Regions from separate parts of the Homo sapiens genome. Here regions 1 and 2 are each linked to region 3. Evidence: promoter capture Hi-C in 16 types of primary human blood cells and fetal thymus (Javierre and others, 2016). All regions are on one chromosome and are shown on one strand. The core of a region is centred on a gene start or on the middle of the fragment in contact, and the rest is flanking DNA. Distances in the headings are between cores, read along the strand shown. Region 1 has its middle 200 kb from the start of ZNF365. Region 2 has its middle 210 kb from the start of ADO. Region 3 holds the start of ADO (2-aminoethanethiol dioxygenase).

What was found. Contacts are between HindIII fragments. The CHiCAGO score rates a contact against its expected background, and 5 or more counts as called.
Region 1: a contact is called between a fragment that was not itself captured here and the fragment with the promoter of ADO in region 3, in 1 of 17 cell types (M2 macrophages). The highest score is 5.2, in M2 macrophages.
Region 2: a fragment that was not itself captured here is called in contact with the fragment with the promoter of ADO in region 3 in 6 of 17 cell types (M2 macrophages, M1 macrophages, monocytes and 3 more); the score reaches 15.8 in M2 macrophages.

What each region holds. Positions count from the first base shown.
Region 1 is chr10:62,576,027-62,578,726 of GRCh38, reverse strand. No RefSeq gene overlaps it. Among named protein-coding and RNA genes, the nearest start is that of ZNF365, 200 kb to the right of the region's middle. The HindIII fragment of the contact is 2,161 bases long and covers 290-2,450 here.
Region 2 is chr10:62,592,226-62,594,925 of GRCh38, reverse strand. No RefSeq gene overlaps it. Among named protein-coding and RNA genes, the nearest start is that of ADO, 210 kb to the left of the region's middle. The HindIII fragment of the contact is 2,045 bases long and covers 350-2,394 here.
Region 3 is chr10:62,803,281-62,805,980 of GRCh38, reverse strand. ADO (2-aminoethanethiol dioxygenase) reads right to left here and starts at 1,261. Exons shown (of 1, transcript NM_032804.6): 1 at 1-1,261. The coding sequence starts at 921. The coding sequence ends at 109. RefSeq lists enhancers at 657-776, 1,247-1,506 and a silencer at 957-1,206. The HindIII fragment of the contact is 5,397 bases long and covers 1-2,700 here.

The DNA.
Region 1 (2,700 bases), core at 121-2,620, 230 kb after region 3:
AGCAAGAAATCATTCCCCCAAGTGTTTATTAAGTGCATCACAAATTCATTCAGCATGACTGCTTACACAGAGAAATAAAGGCAAAATGGTAACAAGCTGCGAGCCTCCAAAGTACCTTCAACTTTAGGATCTCCCTGGGAAAGGGTCACAAGTGTAATCATCTTCAGCTGTCCCTGCCTCGCTTCCGCCGTCAATGGAAATATCCAGGCAGGATGAATACACTTTCTGACTAGACTCTCGACTGACCTAGACAGCTTTTGGAAATTCAGGATATACTTTTCCTAAAGCTTCTTAATTTTTCCCATCCCTCCCTAATTGAAAACATCATTTATCCCATTACAGCATGTGGAAAGAGAGGGGAGGGAAAAGCAGACAGAATCTGAATTTAGGATAAAAATTACTTCGTGAGGTTATTATTCTCATTCATAACAGATGACAATTTTCATGTCATTTAGGTGATTCCAGAACAGAATCATCCAAAAAGATATTAAGTACTATTTTTTCATACTATTTATCTCAAAGGATGTAAAATGAGACATGTATACCTACATTTAGTAGCTACTCATCCATATCTTGCATATTTCCTGGGAATGTTTTGAAATGTTGTCAAGTTCAGTTAGCTGTTATTTCACTGGCCACACGTGAAAGAATTTGTCTCCTTCACTTATACTGTGGTGGGTTCCAAAGACTTAGACTTCCTCCAGTGTCTGAGAACTGTCTGAAGATCCTACTTCTAAAGAAATTTGTGGATGAGTAGTTTCTGATGTAACTCTATTCCTCATTTGTAAGGTGACAGCTACTTCTTCAATAGCACAGCTCCTCCATGGGCTTGCAAATGGGCTCAGCCAGCTCAGATTTGAAACACTCTTTAAAATTCTAAGACGATGTGTCATTTCAAGGGTAAAAAAGCAACATTGCTATAAATATGAGTGGATGCTGGAGTCCCAAAGACTTTCAATACCCTGCAGCTTCCTAGCTGCTGACATCAGCAACATGGTTCTTATTATAGAGCTGGATTTCAGACTGTGGAACTTCCCAAGTATCATTTCCACTCTATGTAAAGAACATGGATTCAGTCCGGTTTCCATGGAGTTAATGGATAAGATTTGGAATGGATCCCTCTCTCGGCCATTTCTGCGAATTAACAAGATGACTCTGGTCCACTAACCCATTTCCAGGGACTAAGATAATGTGAAAGAATTTGATTCTGTCACCCATTGGAACTGAAATTGTTGTTTAGCAATGAATACAATTAGCTCCAAATATACTGGATGAATTAGGACCTTCTAAGGCAGTAGCAAAAGAAGAGCTCAAATATCAACAACAACCAAAAACTCAACAATCTGCTCTCGGTCTGAACTTTCAAGCGAATGAATTGTTACTTGCATGGGCTAACAAAATCCCCTTAAAAATTACCTCTGTTCAGTACATATTAACCCATGTGAGTCAAGTTCTTGGCTAGGCTCCTTATAAGCACCATCTCCCATAACCTTCACAATAGTCCAGTGAGGTAGGTATTCCTATTGCTTCCGTTTTACAGTTGATGAGACTGAGGCACAGAGAGATTAGGTAACTTGCCCAAGGGCACACAAAAAGTAAGTGGCACAGTTGAGACATGAAAACAATCCTGACTGACTTTAAATCCCCGGAACCATTCTGCAATCCTGCCTTGACGATAGGTCAAAGTCTCTGCTTCCGTGGTATTAAAATTGAAAAAAAGCAGCAGTTGCTGAGAAAGTTTCACTCAGTGCGACATCTGTAGCTATCTTTTCCCTCTCCCTAGGCTCCTACTTATTAGCTTTCTAATGACACTGACATTTTCTATTTGGCAAATATGCTTTTGTATTGTATGGGTTTTGGGGTTTTTTTGTTTTTTGGGTTCTTCTTGATTCAGTCTCACTCTATGGCCCATCTCTGCTTACTGCAACCTCCGCCTTCCAGGTTCAAGTGATTCTCCTGCCTCAGCCTCCTGTGTAGCTGGGATTACAGGTGCCTGCCATCGCGCACGGCTAACTTTTGTATTTTTAGTAGAGACGGGGTTTCACCATGTTGGCCAGGCTGGTCTCGAAGTCTTGACCTCAAGTGATCCACCGGCCTCATCCTCCCAAACTGCTGGGATTACAGACATGAGCCCACCATGCCCAGCCGGTTTTTTTGTTTTTTTTTTAGAGTCAGAGTCTCGTGGCTCTGTCATCCACCACGCTGGTGTGCAATGGTGCCATCACTGCAGCCTTGAACTCCCAGACTCAAGCAATTCTTCCACCTCAGCCTCCCAAGTAGCTGGGACTACAGGTGTGCACCACTGCATGTGGCCAATTTCTTAATTTTTTTTTTTTAGAAATGGGGTCTTGCTATGTTGTCCAGGCTGGTCTGAAACTCCTGACCTCCTCCCAAAGTGCTGAGATTACAGTGCTGAGCCACTGCACCTGGCTTATTTTATGTTTAAAGCTTGCTTTTGCAGAATGCATATTTCATATCAGCAGTGAAGCATTGAGGAGTCACAGAGGTCTCTCCATGCCTCTACCATGGCAAGGTTGAAAGGAGGCCTTGTGCTTTGGTTTGCTCATCCAAGAACTTGACACATACCACTAGTCCTGCTGGGGGCCTCTCGTCCTATAGGAGACCTTGGTTTGCCAAATGCAAGACCTCAAAGCTCAAAGCCTTCCACAAACATATTTTTAAATCTTTATTCATTTCTGC
Region 2 (2,700 bases), core at 123-2,622, 210 kb after region 3:
GAAATCAGAAAGATTATCTTAGAACTCAAGCCACGGAGGGTTAGCAATCCACAGGCCAAATTTGACCTACTGTCAGTTTTTGAAAATTTTATTGGCACACGGCCACACCAACCATTTACATATTGTCAGTGGCTCTCTGTCAGTAGTTGTAACAGAGGCTGTGTGACTTGCTAAGACTGAAATATTTACTATTAGTTCTTGACAGAATGAATTGACCCTTGGAAAATCTTAACCTCTGTGTGTGCCAATATTCCTACCTTGCTTCCTCATAAGGCATTGCCTCTTGAATTTTCAACTAAGTCATCCCAAAACATTAGGATGGAGCATTCAGACCACACTGCCTCAAGCTTTCCATTTGAGGACCGCTTCCTAGAGGGGCAGCAGCATTCATTCCATCAGTCCACAGACCCAGAGCATCAGCCGAGAGCCAGGCACCCTGCTAGGTAGTGGGAATAGGCAGATGAGTACGGCACACTCAGCTCCCAGCTGGGAAGTACTGAATTAAACTGTAGGTCTGTGTCACTGGTAACCACAGAGGCTATACAAGGCCATGCAAAGCAGTTCCCTGCGGCCTAGTCTTTCTTTCTCTGCTTTCTTTCTCTCTCCCTTGTTTTAAAAAAATCTCTCTCCCTCTCTTGCCTCCTCTTCCTCCTTGACTCTCTCCTGGCCTCCTTTCCTTTCTTTCTTCCTCCCTCTTGCCCACATCTCAGCCTGCCAGTGCCACCCAGTGGCTCTGACAGGCATTACTCAGACTTGCTGACTGCCCTCTAGGTTGGAAATGACCATGGGGAAGTCAGTAAGTGCCTATAATTAGGGATTCCAAAGCAATTAGACAGGTCTAGTGAATCTTTGCAATCCTCTGAATGCTCAAAGCATTAATATTAGCTTTTTAAGTCATTTATACCTAGGTATAAATGAAGGAACCCAGGAGAGGCTTTGTTAAGGGGAAAGAGATCAGGGAGGCCCTAATGATTAATGTTAAAGAGGTTACTGCATGTTGGCCTGGTGCGATGTTTCACGTCTGTAATCCCAGCCCTTTGGTAGGCCAAAGCAGATGGATCACTTGAGCCCAGGAGTTCGAGACCAGCCTGAGCAACATGGCAAAAATCAGTCTCTACAAAAAACACAAAAATGAGCTGGGTGTGGTGGTGCATGCCTGTAGTCCCAGCTACTCAGAGGGCTGAGGTGAGAGAGTTGCTTGAGCCAGAGGGGTGCAGGCTGCAGTAAGCTGTGATGGCACCACTGCACTCCAGCCTGGGTGACGGAGTGGTAAGACTCTGTCTCAAAAAAAAAAAAAAAAAAAAAAAAAAAAAAAAAAAAAAGGTTACTGCATACTGTTCTGAGCAAAAATTTCATTTGGTATAGCTGACAATACAGTATTATACACATAAAAGTTTGTTAAGAGGATAGATCACTTGCTAAGTGTTCTTACCTCAATAAAAAATAGGTAAATAAATATAAAATTGCATTTGAATTGGTTCAGGGGTGTTATTTAGATAGTATATGATATGGATGTAAAAAAATGTGAAATGACAGATTTATGACTGTAACCAGTTTATTGGTCCATCTTAATTCTTATAATGGATTAACATAAAATGATAGTATTTTTTCTGATCACCATAATTAATTGTGGTCTCTTTAATTCCATTTCCTGTCCTCTAATAACACCTTAGGTGAATCTAGTGGAGTCAAGGGAATGGCCTCTCACATAGATGCTGCCCCTACAAGGCTTTGGTAGCAAAACCCTCAGATTATTGCAGGGCTGAGCTCAGACCCTTGTTGATTCTCTCTCCCTTTCCTACAACTCTTCCCATAAGGAACAGACTGCAGGGGTCGGGTGTGTGTGTGTGAGTGTAGTTGATAACAGAAGGGCTGTTTCCAGGGATATTTAATAACTGGAGGGGATGTGTCTGGTTCCAAATTTAAGCCACTGTCTTTAGAAGGAGGGGTACTGAGCACTTGCTGTTTGGGACAATTCTGTGAGAACAGGAAAAAGTTCCACTCATCTAATCATAGCCTTGGCGCAAACAGTCTTGCACTGTGCACAGATGAATGCTCATTAGTGTGAGGGCGGCTGTGGCACCAGGATGCTGCCTTTCCATGTCATCCCAGCATCCAACTCATGGATACTGGTCATTATAAAGTGATGCTTAAACTGTGACTATGATTTTCTCACCTACCAAGTGATTTTCTCCCCTAAGAATCTGGGTCTCAGAATTCTAGTATTTCAATAGCCACCAAACTTGTGCAGAGTCTAATGGAGGTTCTGGATGGCACTGTATATTAGTCCGCTCTCACACTGCTATGAAGAAATACCTGAGACTGGGTAATTTATAAAGGAAAGAGGTTTAATTGACTCACAGTTCCGCAGGGCTGAGGAGGTCTCAGAAAGCTTACAATCATGGCAGAAGGGGAAGCAAACACATCCTTCTTCGCTTGGTGGCAGGAAGGAGAAGAATGAGAGAAGTACCGAGTGAAGGTGGGGGAAAGCCCCTTATAAATCCATCAGATCTCATGAGAACTCACTCACTATCATGAGAACAGCATGAGGGTAACCGCCCCCATGGTTCAATTACCTCCCATCGGGTCCCTCCCATGGCACATGGGGATTATGGGAACTACAATTCAAGATGAGATTTGGGTGGGGGCACAGCCAAACAATATCACACGGCTCTTTTAAGTGTGAGAAAGCAGGAGAAG
Region 3 (2,700 bases), core at 12-2,511:
CTGCTGCTCATTCCAGTAGATCCAACGCCCAGGCTAGGGGGTAGAGACACAGCCCTTGTGGTAGGGTAGGGCACGTCTTCGGCCCACCGCTCCTGGGCGCCAGTGGCTTCAAGGGAAGACCTTGGGACCTGGATAGGGTTCTCCCTCGCACCAGAAGTCATCGGCCTGTGGGGTCTCCAGGAGCCACACCTCTCGAGGCAGGTCACAGGCCGAGCTGGAGGCCTCCTTGGGCCTGACCGGCTCCAGCACCCGGTAATAGTGGCAGTCCCGGCCATCGTCCGGGTCGTAGGGCGGGGCCAGGATGTCCAGGAAGGCGGCAGGCCCTTCCACGGCGTCGATCTGGTGCAGGTTGTCCCGGTGCGGTGTGAGGATGCAGGGGCCGCTGGCCTCGGTGTACTCGGCCCGCGAACGCAGCACGCCCGGCCGCACGGCTTCTCGCTCCCGGGGCTGCAGCGGCGGCTCGAACTGCTGCTCGGGCGGCAAGGCCCGCGGCCGTTGCCCGCCGCCCGCGTCTAGCTTGTCCATGCAGCTGATGCGCACGGTGCCGTACAGCACCTTGAGCATGCCGTGCATGCCCGGGTGGTCGTGCAGCGGGATGGACGTGCCGCTCTTGAGCAGGAACACGCCCAGGCTGAAGCCGTCCGTCTCGTAGATGTGCATGTAGGTGACTGGCGGCAGGTTGGGCGGCAGCGGCTGCAGTGTGGCCTTGCGCGGGGCGATGTTCAAGTCCTCGGCGCGGAGCTGGGTCAGGAGGCTCTTCAGCTTGCTCAGGTTCTCGGGGAAGCCCGGCTGCATCGGCGCCTCCGGGCCAGAAGCCGCGTCGCGATCGGAAGCGCCGCGGCCGCCCCCGCTGCCCCGGAAGGTGAGGCAAGCCTGGCGGGCGATCCGTTGGATCAAGGAGGCCATGTTGTCTCGGGGCATGGTCGGCTGCTCCTCTGCGTGCCGGGACCGGCCCCCTCCTTTCCTCCGCCCCTTGCGGTCCCCGGCGGCCGCCACGGCTGCCCCCAGCCCGGGTCGAGGCGGGAGGCCCCGCAACCACCGGCCCGTCGGGCGCGCGGCACCGCCGCCAACCTCAGCAGCCACGCGCCCGCAACTGCCCGGCGCGCTCGCCTTGAGCCCCCTCTGAGCGCGCACGCGCACGCCCCACACCCCGCACTCACGCTCCGGGAGCAGATAGCGGCCGCGCAGACGGTGCCAGGCTTTGCCTTACGCCCGGCGCTCCATTCATGCGGCCCGCACCTACGACGGTGGCCGGGCGCCCGGGGACCCTGCGGAGCATGCCGGGACTTGTAGTCCGGCCTTCCGCTTGAGCTCTGAGATAGTTCAGTTTGTTGATTGGAAAATAGAGGAACTATTACACATGTTGGGCATAAAGCGATCTTTTTCAGGATGCAGAGGTGTTTTTCTTGTTTTAGAAAAGATGAATCGGGGTGGAAGATTAGTAGCCACTTGACTACAACTCCCGGCACTCCCCGCAGGGTGGAGTGACGCACTTCCGTCAGCTGGCCCCCGGAGTAGTGGAGGCTCTTGGCCTTCATAAGGAAAGGGGCAGGGAGGGTCGTTAACCTTCTGGCGCCGCGCTGGGGCCTGGTTAGCCATGCAGGGTCGCCTTCCTTTGGCCTTGCCCCTGGGAAGGAGGCTGTTGAGTCAGCCTTAGCTCCTCGTAGCGGCCTAGGCAGCACTGTCTCCCACGGGAATTGCAGGAGGGCGCTTTTATAATTTTGTGTTTCCTAGGAGGGGAGGGGGTCCAGGCCGTCCTCTGTGATCATCAAGGTTACTCGGCCCAGCTGGGCCCAGCTGGGCCCAGCTGTTGTTTGCATCAGGACCTGATGACGCTGCTCTTCTGGTTACAGAGCAGTATAGCTTTTTGCTGGAGAGACTTGAGAGGCCATTTACAGTGGTCGTGGATTCTGAACATACTAGTGGTTATCAAATCTTGGTTTGCCTGAGAAGGGGGAGCGGGCTTTTATAAATGCAGATTCCCTGTCGTCACCCAGAGATGGAGTTACTAGATGGTTCTGAGGCATCCTAGGAGAAATAGTGGTGTGCAACAGTCAGTTCAGTCAGTAATTGTGAAATTGTTTCACTACACAGAGGCATCCTTCTCCTTGGCGTGAACTAACTTTTGGCATAAGTAAATGACTAGAAAAGCAAGACATTAGATACTATGACTTTAAACTTAACCCTGAGTTTAAAGTCTTTTTGGATTCCAAAGCTGAACATGGGTTTCTTGTACATTTTGTAATTGGAGTGGTTCAGTGAATCCTCTCCAGTTAAAATAGGCATACTTTTTAAAGTGGATTACATAACCTGGCTAATGAGTACTCACAATATGCCAGGCACTGTGTTAAGTGCATTATATAATGAATGTTATACTATTTAATCCTTGCAGCAACTCTTAAGAGGCAGGCACTATTATTATTCCCAGATTGCAGATGAGGGAATAAGTTGTAGGATAGTGAATACTAAGTACCCAGCAAAGCATGAGCAGCAGAGCAGAAATAAGTACAGTCTTACCAAAAACAGCAGCTTGAATTGGTGTAAAAGCACCAAACGAGAGTCAGGATATTGTTGTTCCAGCCTACTGTGTGTACTTACAAGCTGTGTGTCGTTAGGCAAATCCTACCCTTTTAGGGCCTCAATTTATTCATTTGTAGAATGCCGGTGTTAAGGGAACAAAAGTTCTGAACCCTACTCATC